Linked DNA regions of Homo sapiens: region 2 is linked to region 1. Evidence: promoter capture Hi-C in 16 types of primary human blood cells and fetal thymus (Javierre and others, 2016). All regions are on one chromosome and are shown on one strand. The core of a region is centred on a gene start or on the middle of the fragment in contact, and the rest is flanking DNA. Distances in the headings are between cores, read along the strand shown. Region 1 holds the start of AMPH (amphiphysin). Region 2 holds the start of POU6F2-AS1 (POU6F2 antisense RNA 1).

Region 1 (6,841 bases), core at 1,661-4,160:
TATTCCAAATAGAATTATTAAGAAATGACAAGCCTCCCTTTTCCACCTATGTTACAGAACTAGATTTGGGCATCTGAATAATAAGAAAAATTAATAATTTGCAATTTTATTTTAAAATATATTTATTGAGTTCCAAAAATGTGGTTGGGTGGGGTGGGAATAATTACGGGACAGACAAAAGCTGGTACTTTGGTGACTGAGGGCTTGAGCTCTAAGGAAGCAGAAAAAAGTAAATCTGGTACTCGGAACTCCTGTCCCTTGCCTGACAGAGGGAGGGCAGTGATGTCTGCAGAGGGAGCTGTATCTAAAACCAGTGTAGGTGGCTCTGGGGCTCACAGTGCAAGAGTGACTATGGATTGATATTCTCTAGAACACTTCTGGTGTATTCCAGCATTCTGAGACTTGTATCCTCATAGTCAAGATCCCAAGGTAGAGCTGAGATTCTGAACCCTGTATCAGTCAGGGTTCTCTAGAAGGACAGAACTGATGGAACACATATATATATGTGTGTTTTTAAGTATTAACTCACACGATTACAAGGTCCCACGATAGGCTGTCTGCAGGCTGAGAAGCAAGGAGAGCCAGTCCGAGTTCCAAAACTCCAAAACAAGAAATTCAAGTCTGATGTTCGAGGGCAGGAAGCATCTAGCACGGGAGAAAAATGTAGGCTGGGAGGCCAGGCCAGTCTCTCTTTTCACATTTTTCTGCCTGCTTATATTCTAGGCACGCTGGCAGCTGATTAGATGGTGCCCACCCAGATTAAGGGTGGGTCTGCCTTTCTAAGCCCACTGACTCAAATGTTAATCTCCTTCGGCAACACCCTCATAGACATACCCAGGATCAATACTTTGTATCCTTCAATTCAATCAAGTTGACACTCAGTATAACCATTACAGCCCCAAAGGCCCCTGTTTGAGGGAGGTGACTCAAATTCCTGGTTTCTGAGCATAGCCTTTTTCATTGAATGTTGACCAAGTGGTGGATTTTTTTTTATCTCTCTGAAATAAACCTCTGTTTACTTGGAGTGTTATAAGTAGGACTCATCCAAATTTGCTCAGAACTTTCCCACTGTTAGCACTAAGAGTCCTGTGTCCTGGAAATTCCTTAATTCCTAAGGAAACTGGGGCAGATATTTATCCTAGGGAAATAAGAGCCAAGCACATAGACCAGGTGTTCCAGGTACCTACTGTTTTATAATAAAGCATTATAAAAGTGATCGACTCATAAAAACTGTTTTGTTTGCTCACATTCTGCACTCTGGCTGGGATTAGCTGAGTGGTTCTTCTGCTGGTCTTGCTGATGGTTGCTTGTGTGGCTGCAGCCAGCCAGTGAACTGATTGGAGAATGGGCTCAGCTGGGACATCTTGGCTGCTCTCTCTCTCTCTCTCTCTCTCTGCGTAATCTCAGGGCCTCTCCCTTTCTGTATGGCCTCTCCTTGTTATTTTATTTTATTTTATTTTTGCAGCAGGGTAGCTGAATTAGCTGAATTTCCTATATGGTGTCACAGGAATCCCCAGAGGGCAAAACTTGCCTGGTTTCTAGGTTGGGTGGGTGGGGGGGGGACTGGAATTACCATGGCGTCACTTTCACCACATCTTATTGATTAAAGCTGGCCATAGCATCATTCTAGAATCAAGGTGAGGGGACTACAGGGTGACACAAGAGTGAACACCAGGTGGCAGCTCGCTGAGGTCTACCAATGTAACAGTTTCCCCCAGAGGTACAGTAGGATGCTCACCTGGACTCATAGGATTCACTGTGAGTGACCACTTCTGACCTCTGTTTGCAGGGCACCACCTGACTTCTTCTCCTCACACTCTCAGTGAGAATGGAATATGAATAGTTTGACCACTGGTCAGAGCCAACAAGAGCTCTAGGTGTAGGGCAGGTTTATCCCTATTATTCGTACTTCTCCCAAGCATTAATAAGAATAATAGGGATGGTGAGTCCCTGTTAAGGTTGCCAAAAGGTTTCCAAGGAAGCAACAAGTTAGGGGGGACTGGGTCTTCCATGGTTGATGCGAAGCTATAAGGGACTTGACTGTTCCATGCACCATTTCTTGAAGAGTAGTCTATTCTAAGGTTTCTGCCCAGCACAGGAATTTTGGAGATGACCAAAACACATCGCCTGTCTTCCGGAAGCTGACCTTTCTCAACGCGGACCTCCCCGCCCTGCTAACTCTTGTTTTAAAGTTTAAACAAGTGTCAGCGATGGTCTCTCCCCGCTTTGCTCTCCACACGCCTCTCTCCTGCAGCTCTGACTTCGTTGGTTTCCCAGCCAGGGCCCCTCACTGGGCTGTGAGCCTCCTGAGGGTAGGGCGACCTCCATACCTTCTTCTGCAACACCCAGGGTGTATGGAGGGGCCTCTGTTAGCTGGAAACTTTTGGGAGCAGCAAGGGACCAGCCCCATCAGCTCCACTTCAGAGCAGTTCCAATCCAGCTGGCTTCCACATCCCTAGGGTTCTTCCCTTTTTTGTCTCCCCTATTTCTTTTTTTGCTGGAAAGAATCAGGTCCCCTCACTCTCCCCAAATACAAACTGCATTAAAAGAACCCCCGAGCTGCCCCTGGGCCCAGGGACTTCTGCTAGGCTTGGTTCCCTTTCTCCTCTCGAAACTCTTCTATCATCGAGGAGACAATCTGGCTTCTGGCTTTTCCCTCTCTTTTTCTTGGCCTCTTTCTCTTTCTTCCCCCGCCCCTTCTCCCCATGTCACAGCCAGTCCCGACGCATCCCGCCCCCGCTCTGTCGCTTTAAGCTGGTCCCGCCGCCGCGCCCCGCCCTCACCCCTCCGCGCTCCGCGGCTCCCCGCCGCTTCTCCCGCTCCTCCCTTGCTCGGCCCTCTCCTCCTCCTCCCGCTCCTCCTCCCGCTCCTCCGCGCCGCCGCCAGCCCCGCTGCGCGCTCTGCTCTTCGCAGCTCCCCGGACCCGCAGCCATGGCCGACATCAAGACGGGCATCTTCGCCAAGAACGTCCAGAAGCGACTCAACCGCGCGCAGGAAAAGGTCAGCGGCGGGCGGCCGGGGCTGGGGCCGGGGACGCCAGGCGGGGGCTTGGCCGGAGGGCACCGGCTGCAGCTGTGCGGGGCCCGAGCCTCGGGGTGCGGCGCGCTGCGGAGCGGGGCCGGGGCCAGGGACGCTGGGACGCCCTGCCCTCAGCTCGGTGACTGCCGCAAGGCGCGACCCGGGCGCCGCGGGGAGCGGGTCGGGAGGACGCAGCGCCGGGGACCCGCAGACCCTGGCCCCGGAGACGCCGGATATGTCCAGCTCCGGAGCCGGCCCCGGGTTGCCGCTCTCCTGGCCCCAAGCCAGGCAACAGAAGTAGGAGGTGCGGCAGCTTGCCCGCTGCGCCCGGAGCAGAGCGCATCTCCCTGCGCTCGCATCTCCCCGGGCCGGCTCCCAGCGCGCCCGCAGGCAGCTCGCGGGGACGCGGCCCGCAGATCGGGGCGGGAGATTGCAGCAGCCTTCCTTCTTGCGGGGGATTTTGTGGCTACTTAAGTGCAGCAGACACGAACGATTTAACAGAGAAGCCACCAAAAATCTCCCAGGACCAATAGGGTAGGATCGTGATCACACAGTGCTGTCTGGTGAGTTCTGGAGTTCAAAACAGAGATCTAGATATACACACTTTTAATTTTGGTCTATATGTTTGTGTCCCTTTTGACTCCAGTGTCCTTCTTTAGAAGGTCAAAAATAAATATGACCTGAACCTAATAGTTCCTTTCTGCATATTTCTGCACAAAGAAGGACCTTTTATTGCATTTTAAAAAATCCAGATTGCACAAATTGGGTTCTCTGTTGTTTTGCAAGTCCCTCAGTAAATTGCGCACAGTAATTTATTTTTTTTCCCCAGAGACGTGCATGAATGAAACCCAGGTCCGTAGCAAGCACAGCCCAAAGCAGGTGGAGGGGAGTTGTACCAGGCACCAGGCTTGCCTGGCTTCCCTGGTGACTGCTGTATATGACGGCCCTGAGGTCTTCATTTGTGTCCTGAGCAAAGGACATTTCCTTTATATTGTAGCTTGAGCATTGTACTTGAAAATCAACACCGGCTAATGAGCCCCATGATTGGTATCACTTGAACTGTGTTCTCTTTCACGTGGCAGTATTTTCCGTCCCTAGGATATGGGGTGTTTAGCGTTTTCCTGTTTTACTGGAAGTCAGATTTGCCATGTTGCTCAGGATGGCAATGAATTTCCCTCTTCAGACCCAATCTCAATCTCAGGCTGCCTCCCAGTTCCGGCTGACCATGAGTTGCTGAGCAGAGGGGGCACTGATCCCTTTTGTCCCCAGGCCCAGAGGCTTGGTGGCTGCCTCTAGTCCCTCCCTCCACACATGCACACTCTCCATGCAGTAAGAGGATTGTATTTCTTTTAATATCTACCCAAGCTCATCCTGAACTAAAGTGATCCTCCTCCTGCCTCTCCCTCCGCAGCTGAATTAGCAAGGCTGCCTGCTGCCTTCCAGGCCCGGGTTACTTGTGCAGAAAGTAGCCAGGGATCTGCTGGCTTGGGATCTGGGCCAGGTTTTGTCATCCTTTTTCCACACTTCATTTTACCCACTTGTAGGTACTCCTCCTCCTGCCTTCCAAGTAATTACTTGACTCTTCGGTCTGAGGCTTTTCACTGAATCCACTTTCCATCTGTGAAGGAATTTAGTGATATGGTCTGCCTTTTCACATATTGAATTATTTCTTAATCTAGGTCACCAGCTGTTAATATGCTCAAAATAAATGAAAAGAAAACCTAATCTCTTACGGAGCATTCAAGTCCTGTGAATTGTCAAAACTCACTTTTTCACGATCAAGGTCAAGTGTACTTTATGACTGCAGTTGTGGATGGTGGTCAGTCTTCTATGGGAGCGGGGGTGAGAGACCCTCTTGGGGGTTTCAAGCGTCCTATTTTCTTCACTGGGGAAAGGTGCTGATGAAAAGTGCCTGCCGCACCTAGTATAGAGGTTCAAACACTAAGAGGCTGAGAGTATAGGCTCTTCCCCAGGGTGAGTTCTGCCCCCCTTTCTGAGTCTGTGTAGCATCAGGATATGCTTGGCACAAAGAGAAAAGGGCATGTTGGCATCCAGGTAAAGCAGCCCAGCCCAAATGGAGGCTGCTGGAGAAAGGAAAGCACAGTATGTTACTGTCAGAGGCTCCATTAGACATATCCCCACGTGATTCCCTCTTTCTACACCTTTGGCCTCTTCCTCTTCTCCAGAGAAGACTCTTCATCCCAATAACTATAGACCATATATGTCCCTGAGACCCTTTGCTTCTTGTTTTTACAACCAAATTTTCTTAAAAGAGAGTCCACTCCCTTGACTTTCTTATCATCTGTGCTTCACCTAAAAGCTTGCATATGTTTAGGCTCCAACTGCATGTCTGAAATCACTTTTAGAGGTGACATGGCTTTTTAGGAATTTTAAATACGTTTTTTTCTTACTGAAAGTCAGTGAAGATTCATTGGAGAAAGGCTGAAATGTATTAGTCAGCAGAAAAAAACCACAAGGCTGAAATGTACATATAAGCAGAAAAAAACTCCAGCAAATTACGAAGCACATAATTCTACTACTCGGAAATTTTACTACCATTTGATATGTATCTGAGTAGATCTTTTTCCATGTGTGTATGTATTTATACAACCAAAACAGGCTCATTGCTGTATAGTTGAAGACCTGTTTATTTCACTTCATAATTATGAACATCCTTCTATACATGTACATATTTTCCATCAATATTTTAAATTATTGAACACTATTGGAATGTATGGATTATACTGAATGCCTTATCTTTTGAATATTCATTTTTCCAGTGTTTCTATATGGAAATACAAGTCAGTGAGCAAATTTGTAGGGAGAATGTTTGCACACCTCTTTAATTATCTCCTTAGATAAATTCCTAGAAGAAGACTTATTGCATCCAAGGTTTGCCTATTTTTATTATAGCTAGATTGCCTTCCAGAAAGGTGTACCAATTTACATTCTCATCAGCAGTCCATGAGACACTTGCCAACTCTGGATAATAAAATTTAAAACAATGTTTAGCTATGTCATTGGATAAAATTTGTTCATGATTAATTTCATTTGTTTGATTTTTAAAAAGCAAACTTTTGTGCATTCGTGTTTTTGTTCTTGAATTGTGCTTTTATATTTCTGCCCGTTTTCTGTAGCAATTCTGTCTTGTTATTAGTAAGGGCAAAAACTTTATCAAGCCTAAGGGTTACAACCATTCTTTCTTCCTTTTCTATTTACTTTTAAATTGTTTGGTGATTTCTACTGAGAAAATGTTTTTGTTGATGTTTTATGTATATCTGCTTACATCTATTGGTTGGTTTTGTCTGGTTTCTCTTTTGCGTGGTTGAATTAGTCAGGATCCTGCTACATGCAGGTGTCAGAAAGCTCAACCCAAACTGGCTTAAGGAAAAAAGGAATTTAATTGCTAATAATAATAATATCTAACAATTTATATATGGTTCTTGTACATATAAATTTAGATTAGCTTTTAATGAATAAAAGCTATATATTCACATAAGATATATGAATATCTTACCTATAGTAGCCTATATACATATTCTTATACATATGTATATGTAAAAGTATATGCAGACCATATCTTTCCTTTAGCTTTTTTTTTTTTTTTTTTGAGACAGAGTCTCGCTCTGTCACCCAGGCTGGAGTGCAATGGCGCGATCTCGGCTCACTGCAAGCTCCACCTCCTGGGTTCATGCCATTCTCCTGCCTCAGCCTGCCCAGTAGCTGGGACTACAGGTGCCCACCACCACGCTTGGCTAATTTTTTATATTTTTAGTAGAGATGGGGTTTCACCGTGTTAGCCAGGATGGTCTCGATCTTCCTA
Region 2 (6,171 bases), core at 3,399-5,898, 770 kb before region 1:
TAGCTCCTGAGAATATCTAATTGGCAAAGTAATCAGCCCTTAAATCATCAGAAGAATAAACTCCTAATAATTCCTTCTAAATAATAATGGATTTTCTGCATCACAAGTATTCAAGTGATGGAGCATATCAGTGTATTTTACTTAGATGTAGGAACAAAAAAATCAGAAGGAAATATCTGTCGGTGGATATGGTTTCTATCTTGAACTCCTAAAATTTACATCTCAAGGGCCAGCTCCCTGGCAGGAGTGAGGCAGGGTGTCCTATTTCTGGGCACAGCTCTACGAAGCAGCGACCTGATGTGAGTATGAGTTACAGACATTAAAACCAACTTTTCCTCTACACCAATACCCCGTCCCTCCAGAAATCTTAATAGGCTTTTGAGAGCCTCCATTTAGAGCCGGCTGCATAAAATGATCCTTTGATGAAAAGGGATTGGAACAAGGGTTAAAGCAGACATTGAAAGGTTACTGTAGAGGGCACAGTGTTCATACAACCCTCCTTTAATATGTGCGGTGTGCACCTGTGATAAGATGATTCATTACATGGGGCCTCTCTTTGACAAGCTCCATCGTTCAGCCCTCGGGGTTCTGACGGGACAATACCACACCCGCCCAGGAAATAAAACAAGGTCAGCTTTTTTTCCCTGGAATGTAGACAGAGACGATTTAGCTTATAATGCATCTTTGTTTACTCTTTATGTAAAATAAAAACAGGGTTCAAGACATCAAAATGCCTGCTCTCCACAGAACAGGCCAAGCAGGGAGTATGCAAACACACTGCTGGGCAAATAGATAAGGCTGGGGGGAAAAGTCTTTGTGAGAATGCTAGCTCCTTCTCCCTTGGATTTCATGATCAGTCACACTGGAGAACCAAGTGTCCTAACCACTGGGCTCTGAGACAGGCCTTCAGATGGAGGGTACCCCGACATCATCAGCTTCATCTCGTTTGCTTTTTATGCAGCTTTTGGGTTTATTGGGTTGTCTGAAGCTCTTCCAGGATCTAGTATGAACATTATGTGGCACATTAGCAGCGTTGAGGGGACAGACCCTCTCTCATGACATGAGGAAAGTTTACTACCCCTGACATACTGAAGTAAATCAACAAGCATGCCAGAGGTTGCCTGGCTTCCGTAGGAATTGGCAGGAGGCCAGGGACCATGGGGCTGACTTGCAATTGGCTTCATTCTAACTCACCCCTTTTCTTTGTTGCTTTTACAAGACTTCTTCATCACCTTCCCATACATTCAAAAATTGGCTTTGTTAAGACTAATTTTGATATCTCTCTCACAGCAATTATGGAAGGAAACTGATCAGTTTCCCTCATTATCCAAGTTTTTCCTTAAGTGAAAAGTAAAAAAAAGCAAAACTGACATTTTATTTTTAAGATGTAACTTTTTTCTTTTTGAAAGAATGCCCCCTGTAATGCAAAGTAACTTCTTCATATAAGGTCATAACATGAGTCATAGTACAGAGATAAAAACAAAATAAAACTTTGGCAATCTAGAGGTAGGAAAAAAATCTTGCTTCTAAAACATAGAAACACCTCCCAACCCTTCTCCTATTCTTGACATTGCTAGTAAACATTATTTATTTGCCTCGAATAGATGCGGTTACATATCACTGTCATGCAAAAGAAATTCAATTCCTTTCCGAGTTCAATCTGCCATAAAAATGCACTCTTGTTCCCATCTCCCACTCACCTGTCCTTGTGCATTAGTAACTAGTTGACCTGTGACCCCCTGAAGACTGGAGAGGGCATTGCCAAAGGCCTGTGAGCTTGCTATGGAGCTCATGGCTGCTGCAGCCGCTGCAGCCTGACTTGCTAGTGGATTATTAACCAGCTGCAAAGAGAGAAAAGATCACCGTGAAAACCACCGAGAGGCACAGGCACAGCACACGGACACAACATTGACTCTGGGGAGGTAGTTCTCGCCTCAATTCGCTCATGCAAAGGGCCTGGAACCCACCGGAGGGGCGTGGCGAACATTCCCCCGGAAGCTCTGGGGTAGGGGGATGATGGAAACGAGGCTGGAAGGAAAATGTTGGGGAGCTTGGTGGAGTCTGGGTTTAGGGCTAGCCCAGGAGGGAACGAGCCTGAACTTCAGGGGTGAGGTGGGCTGTTAGGACCTTCTGGGGTGGAGAAATGATTTCGCAGAAGCCCTCTAGACTAAATAAAACTCAGGAAATATCTGCTTTCCCTGAGGTAACCAGACAGAATAGGAGAGTAAACAGGATGGGGATCGGGGAAAGAGAGGAATAGATTTTTAGGATTTCTAAGAATGAATTTATCATTTCCATTTGTGAATTGCAGTTTCTTTCAGGGACATCGAGCGAGGCAGGTGTTCCACCCCACTTTCTTGTTTGAGGGGAGAAGGAAACCAAAGCCAGTAGAAATGGAATTTATGGCCTCCGTGCTCTCAGAGGGTGAGTCTAGGGCTGCGACAATTTTGGGGCTTTAACCTAAACCACAGGATTCAATGCCAATGAGAAAGGTTGTTCGATGAATGGTCAGATTGACAACTGCTTGCTGTTGTAGCTGATACATGGTCTTTCCTCAGCCTCTTTCCTGGGACAAGAGTGAAACAGGGAGGAAGAAAGAGAGAGTGGGAGAGAGACCTGCCGGGGAGGAGGTTATGGCTGCCAAAATCTGTTTTTCCATGGAGACCAATTCAATATTCTCCTTCCTGCCAATTTTCCACGCCACAGGTTTTCAGGCCTTCTGACCATGAGGCAGAAGTGTGGCTTCAACTAAAATCTGCATTTAGGTTAATGACTAGATATAAATTCAAGAAACATTTAAACTATTTTCACAGTATTGGTTTTGATACATGAATTTCATTTGTATTTATTCTAGGGTGTTATTTTTTTCCCCATATAGTTTCTCTCAAGTACAACAATTGTTGTGTTGGAAATAATGCATTTTCCATCACCAGTTCCCACATCCATGAAATTCCTGCATTTTTTCAGAAACCTGCCACGACTAAGACTAGGTGGAAAAAAATTAATGCCATACCTAATTCAAGTCTTGGAAGCTCTTCTAAAAATGCCACTTTTAAAACTTTCCTTTCTTCATTTTTTGTCTCAGTCTCTCTTCTCTCTCTCTCTTTTCCTTCTTCCCTTCAAATCATATTTTATTTCTTAATTTCTTTGGAAATTTGCCTAGAGATTATACTATCTTATGAAGAAGGAAATATTAATTATCAGAGAAAACATCAAAAAGGACAGGAATTTAATAACTATTTTTTCATTAATGTGGTATCTTTATCTTATCGGTTTCTTTATTCATTTATAACTAAATTTCACACAACTGTTCTTCAGTAATTCTGCTGACCCAGCACATTTTTTAAAAAAAATGAGAATCCATTTTAAGTTGATTACTTTATGTCTTTTGCCTTTATCTCTCTCCTAAAAGACAATAATGATTTTCTTTTTAAGGAGAAAAAAATTCTCACTCATCAGCCTAAAGAGAAACCCTGTCTTATCCCAGATTACCACCATGGGATTTAAAATTCAGGTTGGTCTTGATTTTGATTTTTGGAGTATGTCTTTAAAGGATAGGTGGGGTAACTATGCATCCAGAAGTAACTCTCCTTGTTTGTAGACTACCTAAAGTGAGAAGAGTTCATAATGTGTTCTTTTTTTTTTTAACTTCTGAAGTGAGAAGACTGCTTGGGAAATACTGTCTCCGAACTGCCGGTACAGACACTGCCCATTGGTACAATATTTTTAGGTCATCTGTCAATTGCCATGTTTGCATTTCTTTCATGCAATACAAGTTGAAATCATAATGAATTTCTTGAGTTTCAGGAATATCTCAAAATAAACTTCTTCATCCTCAACAAATGATTAAATTATGTTCAGTTGGATCTTAATGTTGACTATGGATTTGGTCCATGAATTTTGGGTGAACAATTTAAGTATCTACATACAGAATGCTCTCTGAAAAAGATAGACAATTATTTATATTTAATGAAAAGAAAATATTTTTTATTAATTGCAAGGCATTTCCCTAACATCTATGTTGATCAAAAATTCATATAGGAAATTATAGAATTATTCTCTGGATACCAAATAGCATAGATTGAGAATTTCCTACATTTAGGACACTAGTGTGTTGTTCAGATATAGTCCCATGCAGTTTGCTGCAAATTCAGGTATTGCATAAAGGATAAACAATTATTCTGAATACAAAACAAAGTCTCTACTTAAAAGTGGGCTTCTAAGCTTTTGTGTTTTGGGGTCAGAAATGGATATATTTCAACTGCTTTGGATGGCTGCCTTGGCAACCACAAATATATAGGTTTGGCTTATTTTTAATGTTTATTTCCTCTGTATTCTGGTCCTAGCTTAAAACCTAATTTGGTCCTCTTTTTGCTGCCTTTCCCTCTTAATGAAGCAAATGCCAACTCAGATGACTCTTTTACTTCCTACCGTCATTCCAGTAGGTCTTTGTGGAAGTTGTCTGGGTTCTGGGGAGATGCCCTGCTGTTCCTGTAGAACTAGAGCTAGAACCACAGTCACGGAGTGTGGTGTGCACAGACAGTGGGTGCAAGCCAATCTGTAAGCTGACGGCATTCCAGGAGGACCACTGGTGGTGTTGATGGATGTAACTTTATACATACATATCTTTTGGCTTCTCTGTCTGTGACTGCCAAGGCAGGGATGTAATATGCATTAAAATATGTGGGAGGGAAGTGAAGGGGTTGGTCAGGAAACCACACGTGTTCTTCTCATCACCTCGGGTCATGTCACTCTGTATTGTCCCCAGTCATATCATGTTAGCACTGCTCCTATCGATATTTCTTGATTGGAGACTCCGGGTAGATTTGGACAGCAGGGAACCCAGGAACAATAAATGCACATAATGAGCATGTTATTGTTCCGGGACCAACTGGATATTTTGAAGCTGCTGCCAAGTTTATGCCTTCAGATCTTTCACTGCCAATGTACCTAACCAGCAAAGGATGGCCCAAATGAAGTCTGACTGTAATACATGGTCTTGTTTTCAACAGACTAGCTTAAAAGACATGATGAATTCTGGTGTATGCTTGTTGATAAATGTGGAAGCTTTCTAAAGGAAGGATTTGCAGAGGGCTAGAGTTCTTATGTTGTATACAAATGGATTCTGGGCCTTGAATACATCAAGTTCTACTTCTGGAGTCTAAATCCCACTAAGAGAAGCATTGATATCTTAAGACAGTTTTCTCCTCCCTGGAATTTTAGAGAATACAACAACAGAATAATTTTTTGAAGTAGTTTTATGCCAGTGAGGAAGGGCTCCAAGCCTCACATTCCCCTGCTCACCCATTAATGCAGCTGAGGGCATCAGCTCTGAAAACAGACTGCCTTGGTTTGTGACTTTAAGTAAACCACACTTCATTTTCTTAGGGGTAAAATGGGTATGAAAAGAATATCACACACAGGGTTAGGATGAGAATTAAATGAGATAATGCACTCAAAAGTTTTAGATTAATACCTAGCATACATTATTTTCTTAATAAATGGTAGCTAATGTTCTGATGGTTTATACTGTGCATGAAGATTTTGAATTAATCAACTTGGAATTAGAACTCACCTCCATAAATATCTTTTTTCTTTGGAAATAATAGGAACATGGGTAACTATTCCCTATTTTTAGAGCAATTTTATTTTACTTTTTTTTCTTATAAAAAAAGATCAGCTTGAAGAATGTGTAAAAGTATTTTAGAGTAGAGAGCATAAGCAACAAGTATTTAAAACAGGGCTTCATCTGCTTGTCTTGGGCCTGTCCTATTTGATGGGATTAGCTCATCTGTAGAGAAAGTAGTGCCTAGAGTCTGAAGCCAGGGTCAGCAGGTGACAGCAAGAGAAGACATTACCTTATTTATAGTACGTTTTCCTCATCCTTAGTTTGCAACATTCGTTAGGTTTCCATAAGGGCACCCATTTTGGAGTCTAATTCCTGCCTCATGTCAAAATATTGTGAATGAGTCCATCTCACAGTTGCTGATTTGATAGTGAGGGAATGCAGGAAAAAGATTTGCAAAAAAAAAAAATTCCTTTAGGATTTACAGTGATTTATTTCTATGTCTACATATCAATATGGATATTTGGTGCTCATCTCATAATGAGAATAAATCCATATTTCCAAATCTATATACTTTGTGCATCTCCTTGCTGTCTGTGTACACT

The links. The method cuts DNA at HindIII sites, captures the fragments that hold promoters and counts their contacts. A CHiCAGO score of 5 or more calls a contact.
Region 2: a contact is called between a fragment that was not itself captured here and the fragment with the promoter of AMPH in region 1, in 1 of 17 cell types (M0 macrophages). The highest score is 5.3, in M0 macrophages.

What each region holds. Positions count from the first base shown.
Region 1 is chr7:38,627,442-38,634,282 of GRCh38, reverse strand. AMPH (amphiphysin) reads left to right here and starts at 2,910. Exons shown (of 21, transcript NM_001635.4): 1 at 2,910-3,000. The coding sequence starts at 2,932. The HindIII fragment of the contact is 9,553 bases long and covers 1-5,340 here.
Region 2 is chr7:39,402,270-39,408,440 of GRCh38, reverse strand. POU6F2 (POU class 6 homeobox 2) reads right to left here. Exons shown (of 10, transcript NM_001370959.1): 6 at 1,701-1,841. It overlaps POU6F2-AS1 (POU6F2 antisense RNA 1), which reads left to right and starts at 2,095. Exons shown (of 4, transcript NR_046711.1): 1 at 2,095-2,107; 2 at 2,322-2,424; 3 at 3,436-3,514; 4 at 3,658-3,843. The HindIII fragment of the contact is 843 bases long and covers 4,227-5,069 here.